Regions from separate parts of the Homo sapiens genome. Here regions 1 and 3 are each linked to region 2. Evidence: promoter capture Hi-C in 16 types of primary human blood cells and fetal thymus (Javierre and others, 2016). All regions are on one chromosome and are shown on one strand. The core of a region is centred on a gene start or on the middle of the fragment in contact, and the rest is flanking DNA. Distances in the headings are between cores, read along the strand shown. Region 1 holds the start of HRCT1 (histidine rich carboxyl terminus 1). Region 2 holds the start of CLTA (clathrin light chain A). Region 3 has its middle 13 kb from the start of SPAAR.

Region 1 (2,700 bases), core at 87-2,586, 280 kb after region 2:
CAAGGCAGCCTGTGGATGGGGCTTCCTCGAGTTTCAGAGCTCAGTCTGCCCTGGACATGGGCTGAAAAAAGTACAGGGGCAGAGCCCTGGGGAGCCAGGCTCGCAGCGGCTCCAACCTTCCTCTCCCCGAGGACTGTCCCGCGGAAGGCCAGAGCCCTGCTGGTGCACACAGGACCTGCTGTGGGCAGGGTTTTGTGCAAACCCTGAATCCTCCCTCAGAGCTCAGACAGAGCCCACCCAATTCTTCCCACTCCACAACCAGCCCCTAAGAACCAGACAGAAGCCGCCTGCTCCAGCCACACGCTTCCCATCAGAGAGGGAGGTCCCAGGGCAATGAGGACACAGGCCAGGCAGCTCCCTCCCTCCCACTATGCTGCAATCAAGAGCCTCTTCACAAAAGCTTCTTAGTGGTTTTTATTTTCTTGGACTAAGGCACCGATGAATTGACTGTGCAGCCTCACACTGCCTTCTCCAAACCAAAAGGACATTCTCAGGGCCTCTCCCAGTGCCCTGCCCGCCAGAGGCCTGCAGCAGCCTGATGAGGAGGTCAAGACGGGCACTTCACATCCACTTGTGTGCTGGCTCTGCCAAGACACGCTTGTCATTTCTGGGGCTCACTGGGAGTCACTGTCACAAGACGGGCTGTCCAGCCCCGAAAGAGCACCCTTGCTCTCCACTCCCCAAACCCTTCAGCACTGCAGACCCAGTGTTCCTCCATTCTCTGCTGCCATAGTACACTGGGGCATGCCATGCAAATGCAGCTGGAGCAAGCCCCAGTCTATTGTTCCCCTCGTTCACCCCAGAGATGCATCCTTCCACATGGAAACATGGGGTCCACTTGTCCTGGGAACAGATGGGAGGGCAGGGGCAGCTGCTGTCCACAGGCACCGGCGACAGCAGCCTCAGCGAGCGTGGCGGGGATGGTGGCGGTGGGGGTGGTGGTGGTGGTGGAGGTGGTGAGGGGTGTGGCGGGGGTGGTGGTGGTGGTGGAGGCCCACATTCGGCACATGAGATACGTGGCCAGGATGACGGTGATGGTGAAAGATTCCCAGGTGGCCCCGCCGCCGGAAGGGCCAAGGCTGGGCCCGGCGGACTCGGTTTCCCCCTGCAGCTGTACGGTTCCTCTCCACGTCACAGTCCTGCCGTCCGTGGAAAAGGCAGGTGGCCAGCAGCAGCAGCAGCAGCAGGACCGCCACAGCAGCACCTGTGATCCATCCCACGAGGGCTGTGCTCCCCAGGAGGCCCAGCATCTGGGAGCCGGACAGTCCCTCTCTGCCCAGCAGCTCCTCACTCCTTTCTCCCCTTCAGCAGCCTCCGCTCAGCCCTCTCAGTCACTGAACTTTGTTGTCTCTGCTGCGGGCTGGAGAGCAGCCAGGGAATGTGGGCGAAGCCTGTTTGGACTTGCAACTGCTGGCCAAGGGTGAGGCCAGGCCGCTGTTAACTCTGAGGAGGCCTGGCAGGGAGGCCAGGTGGAGACAGAGGAGCTGTCAGGCTGGATCTGGTTGAGGGAGGAGCCCTGAGTCTAGAGGAAAGAAACCCTCCTGCTGCCTGGCTCAGTGACCTTCCCTCTCCGCACTTCAGTCTCCTCTCGTAGAGACTGTGTAGAACAGAGATGAACAACACGGGCTTTGGAGCCACGCCACTCACTTGCTCTGAGATTGTGCACAAGTTACTTAACCTCTCTGTCCTGTTTCCTCTTCTGTAAAATGGCTGATAACGGTTCCTTCCTCAGTAGGGTGTTCCGAGGACTAAAGGAGTTGAGATGCGTAAAGCAGCAACACCAGCTCCCGTCATGTTTGCAACTGATATTACTGCAATGGACTCCATGGCTCAGGAGACACTGACATCTGAGAGTCTGTGATTCCCTGTCCTGCAGCCTGCAGAGCCCTCCGGGGCTGAGTCAGGCTCTGTCAGATGAGCCATCCCGAGCTCAATGAGCTTGAGAAGCTCAGGGAGGCACCACAGGCAGATTTTGCCATCCAGGGAGGTCCTCCATCCGGCCTGTTCTGGGAGGCAGGAGGGTCTGGGTGTCCTCCCAAGCTTGCTGGGAGGCAAGAAGGAGGCCACTGAGCTCAGAGAGGGCAGGCACAGCCCAGCCTCCTGGTTCCCAGTTCAACAGTCTCAACTGGCCATAAATGGCATGCTCCTTGCTCTGTCACACCCTCCCTGCCCAGCAGTGATGAGTGCCATTCCTGCCTAGTGGAGCATTTACAGAGCGGCAGGATCTGAGCAGTACTGACTGTCCCTCCAAGCCCACCCGCCAGGCCCAAATCCCCTCTGTTCCTCCTGGGAGGCACCGTCCCATCCTGCTGACAGACCTCAGCAACAGGTGCTCACTCTCTCTCTGGGCAACCCTTTCTGCTGTGGGCATGCTGGGCTGTTCTCCAAGCTCTTCCTCACATGCAGTGGGGCTCCCCAAAGCCCCAGCTCTGTGTCTGGCTCTGCAGGGTCCCTCCAGGCTGAGTCCCCAGCCCCTCCCTCCAGGCTCATCTCCCTACCGCCTGGAGGAATGTCTGCAGACACCGCAAGGCTGGTTCTCTGAGTTCTGGCAGCACCTCCACCCTGTGATGTTGGGCAAACCCCTTGCCCTGATCCAGCCTGTCTCCTCTGCAGAACTCCCGGAGCAAGAGGTGACCTCCAGGGACCCTTCCCCCTCTGACCTCAGTCTGAGGTGAGTTCTCTTAGGGAGGCCTCAAACCC
Region 2 (2,714 bases), core at 137-2,636:
CAACACTTCTACTGTCTCATGTCAAGCCAGCTTCTCTCGTATATGTTACCTACCTGGCTCCTTAAGGTTTGAATTTAGGGTAGACACTACTCCTATATGCCCCAGTAGTGCCCTATTCTCCCTTAGTTGGAATTTTTTAAGTGAATGAAAAGCCGTATTTCATTTCTTCTAGCTAAATTTCCTACTTCTTTGTATTATTAAGTAGGTCTTTTCCACTCATGATCCTAAGCATCACACACAGGTTAAGGCATCCAAAGGTCAAACTGCCATCCTACCTGCCCCATTTTTACTTGAGTTTGGCTGAGAACATTCTCTATTCACCTCTTCATCCCTCCCTGATTGGTTTAGGCTAATCTTGGGTTCTGCTTAGGCAATATTGCCTACCAAAGCTGTTCCCAGAGGAAGAGCTCCAGAAGTCCTAGCTGTAAATCAATCGCTCAACGATAGCAAACTCCTACCGCGCTTGGCAGTTCTTTCTCCAGACCTAGATCATCTTTCGAGTTCCCTACTCCCTCCTTCCTCCTCGTAATCCAACACTCTGTACACCTTAAGTGCTTAAATGCTGAACTGCATTGCTACTTTTGTTTGTATCTCTCAAAAACGATATTTCCATTCTTATTTTTTTCCGCCCTCCTTTTCTAATAACGAGTTCTGTGCTCGGCTCAGACTTATAAGCTTATAAGTCTGGAAAAACTGCGCCAATGCGGTTGCTTCAGAGACCGGACTAAAGGCACAGCAAATGCTTAATGAAAAGTTGCTGAATTGAACGGGCTTCTTCCGGCTCCGGAGCCTGCCACCCTACACTTGCTTTCTCGCTCCGCCCGCGCCCAGAAGCACTCAAACATGCTGAGAACCGAACAGGCTTCTCGAGCCTAGGTTTCTGAAAGACCGGGCCAGGGTCTCGTTTCCTGTTTGCACTGCTCCCTAACCTCCTAATTCAGCAAGGAGCACGAGTCACACAGAAGCTCTCGGACCCACTGTGGACCGAGTTTCCAGACAAGTCCTCTCGCCCCAAACGCGCCCGCACTCTCACCCGGACCCCCCGGCGGCTCGCCGTGCGGCTGGGGCCCGGGGGCGCCGCCGTCCAGGATGGCGAAGGCCTCGTCGTTCTCGATGCCCGCAATCTCGCTCTCTTGCTGCGCCAAGAAGGCCGCAGCCGGGTCTTCTTCGCCGGCGCCGGCCACTCCGTTCCCCAGCGCGGGACCGCCAGGGGCGCCGGCAGGGGCGCCGAACGGATCCAGCTCAGCCATGGCGGGCAACTGAACGGCACGGACACCAACGGTGAGACAAAAACCAACCGACCCACCGACACCACGCCCGGCAGCCACCGCTGTGGTGCCGACTGGGAGAGGAGGACAAGCGCCAGGAGGGAGACGGGTAAAGCGGAAGCCCTACCCGTGTATCCGGTCGGTCTAGGCGGTGTTGCAGAGCCGAAAAGGGAACAACCAATCAGAGGACAACAATGGTTCAGGAGCTACCCAATCAGCAAGTGGAGGGGCGGTCCCCCTAAAACAACTCGTGACTGGGGTAGGGCGGGAGGTGAGGGAGGTGAGCTGCGCGGGCCCCGGGAGGCGGAAGTGCTGCCTGATAGGGAGCGTCCTACCCACCCCGTCTGCTGGAGCTGGACTGACCAGGGACGGCCACCCCTGAGGGGACTCTAGTGCTGCACTGGGAGGTGAGGTGAAGTTAGGGCAGCGACGATTGGCCGATTACTGAAGAGGCATGCCACTTAGGCTTTCTGAACCTCAGTTTCCTCATTCGTAAAATAGAAACAAGAATCCTGCTCTTGCGCCCCCTCCCGGGATTATTAGAAGATTGAATCCTAAAAAAAAAGAAGAAGAAGATTGAATCCTTTTATGGATTTGAGGGTCCCTGGCTTTATAAATTTAAAATATTTAATTCTTTCAGCCAGCCTGGATTATTTGCTCCCTTAGAGCCCATAGATTTACTGTAATTGATTCAGTCCACTCCGATTTTTCTCGCCCATAAGTATTTTTATTTAAAAATGAATATATCTTATCTTCTTCAACGAAGCACTTTTGCAGCCATTACGTCTTTTCGGAGCTAGACAGAAGTTACTAAACCTGGAAAATTCCTTAAGGATCACTTGCTTCAAAGGGAGACACGGTGGCCCTGCTGTTCAAGGAGCGTCAGTGACCCAGAGAGTCAGTGACCAAGAGGAAACGCCTGTCTCCTGGGGACTTCCAAGATACTAGCTACAGTCTCTTATATTTACACCTTTCCTCCCTAAGGACAGCAGGAAAAAGAAAGTTCCGTGTTTCTTTTTAAATCAGGGAGATGTTAATAGCTACATGGCTCATTTTGTCTACACCACAGAAATAACAGTGGTTCCAGTTAATCATGCTCATGTTGAGGGGGAGTGCTTATGCAGGGGCCACCAGAAGACCCCTCTCCTTCACTACCACCACCACCACCCTAAGAAATGAAAAGCCAAAAAAAGAAACCAAAAAACCAGAGGTCAACAAGAAGCTTCCAGAGGTAGTCAGCAGGGGACAAGAAAGTGTTTTTATAAAAAACGCACATATCTTTGATGACAAAAAAAAAGGGATAGCTATGAAGGAAAAATGAAGCAAATAAAAATTATTTAAAGCATATATTTACTTAAAGCATAATTTTAAAGTCATTTAAAGTATGAACCATAGGAAAGTGTTGAAGAAAAACATTTAAGAAAGTTAAAATGTTAGGGTCTGCAA
Region 3 (2,818 bases), core at 49-2,548, 270 kb after region 2:
AGAAGTCACACACCACTTCTACTGGCCATTCCTAGTTCCAAGAGGGACTGTGTTGATGTTATTGTTGTTTTTCTAATAAGGAAAAAGAGGAAAACTGAGGTTAGGAGACAAGTAGACCCCTGTGCACAGGGTCAGACATAAAGTCAAATGATCACCGATGCAGCTCTGGTGCGGCCTCTCTGAAAAATCACCAAACTTAACACCAAATCCTAAGGACTCCATACCTCAAACCCCTTAAAATGAGATCAATGAAAATGAGCGGTGGCCAAAATTGGGACCCAGGAGAATGTATCCAGTAGGATCACGATCAGTCAAGCAAATAGGTTTTACTTGGGTTTCCTGGATTTGTGTTGTGTTTTGTTTTGCTTTGTTTGAGATGGAGTCTCCCTCTGTTGCCCAGGCTGGAGTGCAGTGGCACAATCTCGGCTCACTGCAACCTCCATCTCCCGGGTTCAAGTGATTCTCCTGCCTCAGCCTCCCGAGTAGCTGGGACTACAGGCGCGCACCACCACGCCCAGCTAATTTTTATATTTTTAGTACAGATGGGGTTTCACCATGCTGGCCAGGATGGTCTTGATCTCTTGACCTCATGATCCACCTGCCTCAGCCTCCCAAAGTGCTGGGAATACAGGCACGAGCCACCGTGCCCGGCCAGATTTGTGTTTTTATGCAGGAATTCCTTCCCAGCATTTCTCGGAAATACTGTTTTTCCAAATGCCAATTCCTGAGAAAAAGAAGTTAAGACATCTAGGAACCTGGTAAGAGTGTTTTTGTGTGAGAATTAAAGCTTAGCAATCAACATGTTGAACTAGATGTGACTAGTTCAAAGGAATCCACTGACACCAAATCAAAAGCGAGAGTAGAAAATACTGAGGCACCCATAGGAAAGTTAAGTTCTGAATGGAACTGGGGAGTAGAGGAGAGAAAAGGCCATCATCTAATCAGTCTTCCGACTGCTGTTGCCAGGGTAGAGGTGGTGGTGGGCTAGCGCTGGCTCAAGAAGAGCCAGTTGTATGCTGCTCTTCCCAGCTCTCAGTGACATCCCCTCGGTAGCTGGGCATTGACCATTGTGGGAACATTTATGCCTCCCCTCAGAATTTGGCAAACCCTACATATAAGGGTTTTTTTTTTTTTCTCCAGGAGAGTCAGTTTACCAGCACACACTGGTTATAAGTGTGTGTTTGTGACCTGGTCTGCTTCTAATGGTAAGTCATTTTTGCAAATAAAACAAATATTGGTAAGTTTGTACACATAGGATACTTATACAAGTCCTATGAGCAGTGTCGGAAAAAAATAACAAATTTTGAAAGCAAAATAAGTCTTGAAACTGGCAATTCCAACAAGTGATTCTATGAACCTTGTTAGTGAGTCTGAATGTTAGTTATTTGAACACTTCCCAGTAATGATTGCTGGCATTTCCACGTGTTGAATATTCATTATAGGCTACAGTTCTTTGTAAATACTTTAACAGAAGAGATGCAAAAAGAAGACGTGATTGCTGTTATAGAACACTCCAGAAGGAAATCAGAAATTGCTCTAAAATCTGAATTAGCAAGAGCAATATTGATCTCAATGGCAAAATCAAGACCAGAGTAAGCAGACCAAAAAGTAAAAATAAAAATAAAGCATCATTTAAAAAGGAAATGAGCTTCTATAAAACAACATGTACCCTAATGGCTAACCTGAAGATGTTAGGGGCACACTCAACCAACATCAATGAAAAATGAAAAAACAAAAAAGTTTCCTACATCTAGAATATTTGTCACAAAACAAAGATCAAAACTATCAGATAGAGCAATTAAAGCTTTGTGTTTTAAAAGTTCATTTTAAAAATAACTTTTAAAATTAAATGTTTGTGCTATTATTTTTCCATTTTTAAGTGATTTTTATCTGGCATTTATTTTGCAATAATGTTCCCTCCTTTTTAATGTTTTCTATATCCAGTGCCTATATCAGGTGGAGATAATTTTTATGTTATTGAAATAATCTTGTCACAACATATTGGTTCATAATAATAATAAACCTTAAGGAAAAAGTCTGGAACTTTTAGCATCAATTTGTCACTGACAATTATTAACTGTTTATTATTCTGGTCATTCATTATTATTTAAAAGTATGTGAATATAATGTTATAGAAAATATGAGCCAGGCGCAGTGACTCACACCTGTCATCCCAACACTTTGAAAGGCTGAAGCAGGAAGATAGCTTGAGGCCAGGAGTTCAAAACCAGCCTGGTCACATAGTAAGACTCTGTCTCTAGAAAAGAAGAAAACAAAATAGCCAGGAGCACCCTAATGGCTAACATGAAGATGTTAGGGGCACACTCTATAGGCATGTACCTATAGTCTCAGCTACTCGGGAGGCTGAGGAAGGAGGGTCACTTGAGCTCAGGAGTTCGAGGCTGCAGTGAGCTATGATCGTACCACTGTACTCCAGCCTGGGTGACAGAGTAAGATCCTGTCTCCAAAAAAAAAAAAATTTAATGTATAATTTCAGGAATGCTCATGAATTCCCAGAAATTTCAATTTCTCATTCCTGAATACTGAACAGAAGTATTCGCGGGGAATTTGGAAACATTATTCTGGAGCTTTCAAACCTTTTAAAGCAGCAGACCCCTTTTTATCAAGCAAAATCTACCTGGGAAACAGAAGATATAAAAGAGGCAAAAATGAGGCTCTGGCTGAAGGAGAGGGGATAATATGGTCCTGTGCTGAACTTTGTGACCAATTTGTTGAGTGACTTGGAGTGGGGCCTGTCACTTTTGTGTCTCTAAGTCTTGGTTCCCTCATCCGTAAACTGCGGTTAATACAGCCTGCT

The links. Contacts are between HindIII fragments. The CHiCAGO score rates a contact against its expected background, and 5 or more counts as called.
Region 1: the fragment with the promoter of HRCT1 here is called in contact with the fragment with the promoter of CLTA in region 2 in 1 of 17 cell types (endothelial precursors); the score reaches 5.1 in endothelial precursors.
Region 3: a contact is called between a fragment that was not itself captured here and the fragment with the promoter of CLTA in region 2, in 1 of 17 cell types (endothelial precursors). The highest score is 5.7, in endothelial precursors.

Annotation. Positions count from the first base shown.
Region 1 is chr9:35,904,838-35,907,537 of GRCh38, reverse strand. It overlaps HRCT1 (histidine rich carboxyl terminus 1), which reads right to left and starts at 1,336. Exons shown (of 1, transcript NM_001039792.2): 1 at 402-1,336. The coding sequence starts at 1,250. The coding sequence ends at 903. It overlaps LOC124902149 (a long non-coding RNA gene), which reads left to right and starts at 1,868. Exons shown (of 3, transcript XR_007061471.1): 1 at 1,868-2,700. RefSeq lists an enhancer at 1,789-2,670. The HindIII fragment of the contact is 1,640 bases long and covers 403-2,042 here.
Region 2 is chr9:36,189,593-36,192,306 of GRCh38, reverse strand. It overlaps CLTA (clathrin light chain A), which reads right to left and starts at 1,386. Exons shown (of 5, transcript NM_001833.4): 1 at 1,034-1,386. The coding sequence starts at 1,250. RefSeq lists enhancers at 1,191-1,410, 1,126-1,751. The HindIII fragment of the contact is 1,815 bases long and covers 678-2,492 here.
Region 3 is chr9:35,920,763-35,923,580 of GRCh38, reverse strand. No RefSeq gene overlaps it. Among named protein-coding and RNA genes, the nearest start is that of SPAAR, 13 kb to the right of the region's middle. RefSeq lists an enhancer at 1-310. The HindIII fragment of the contact is 1,017 bases long and covers 790-1,806 here.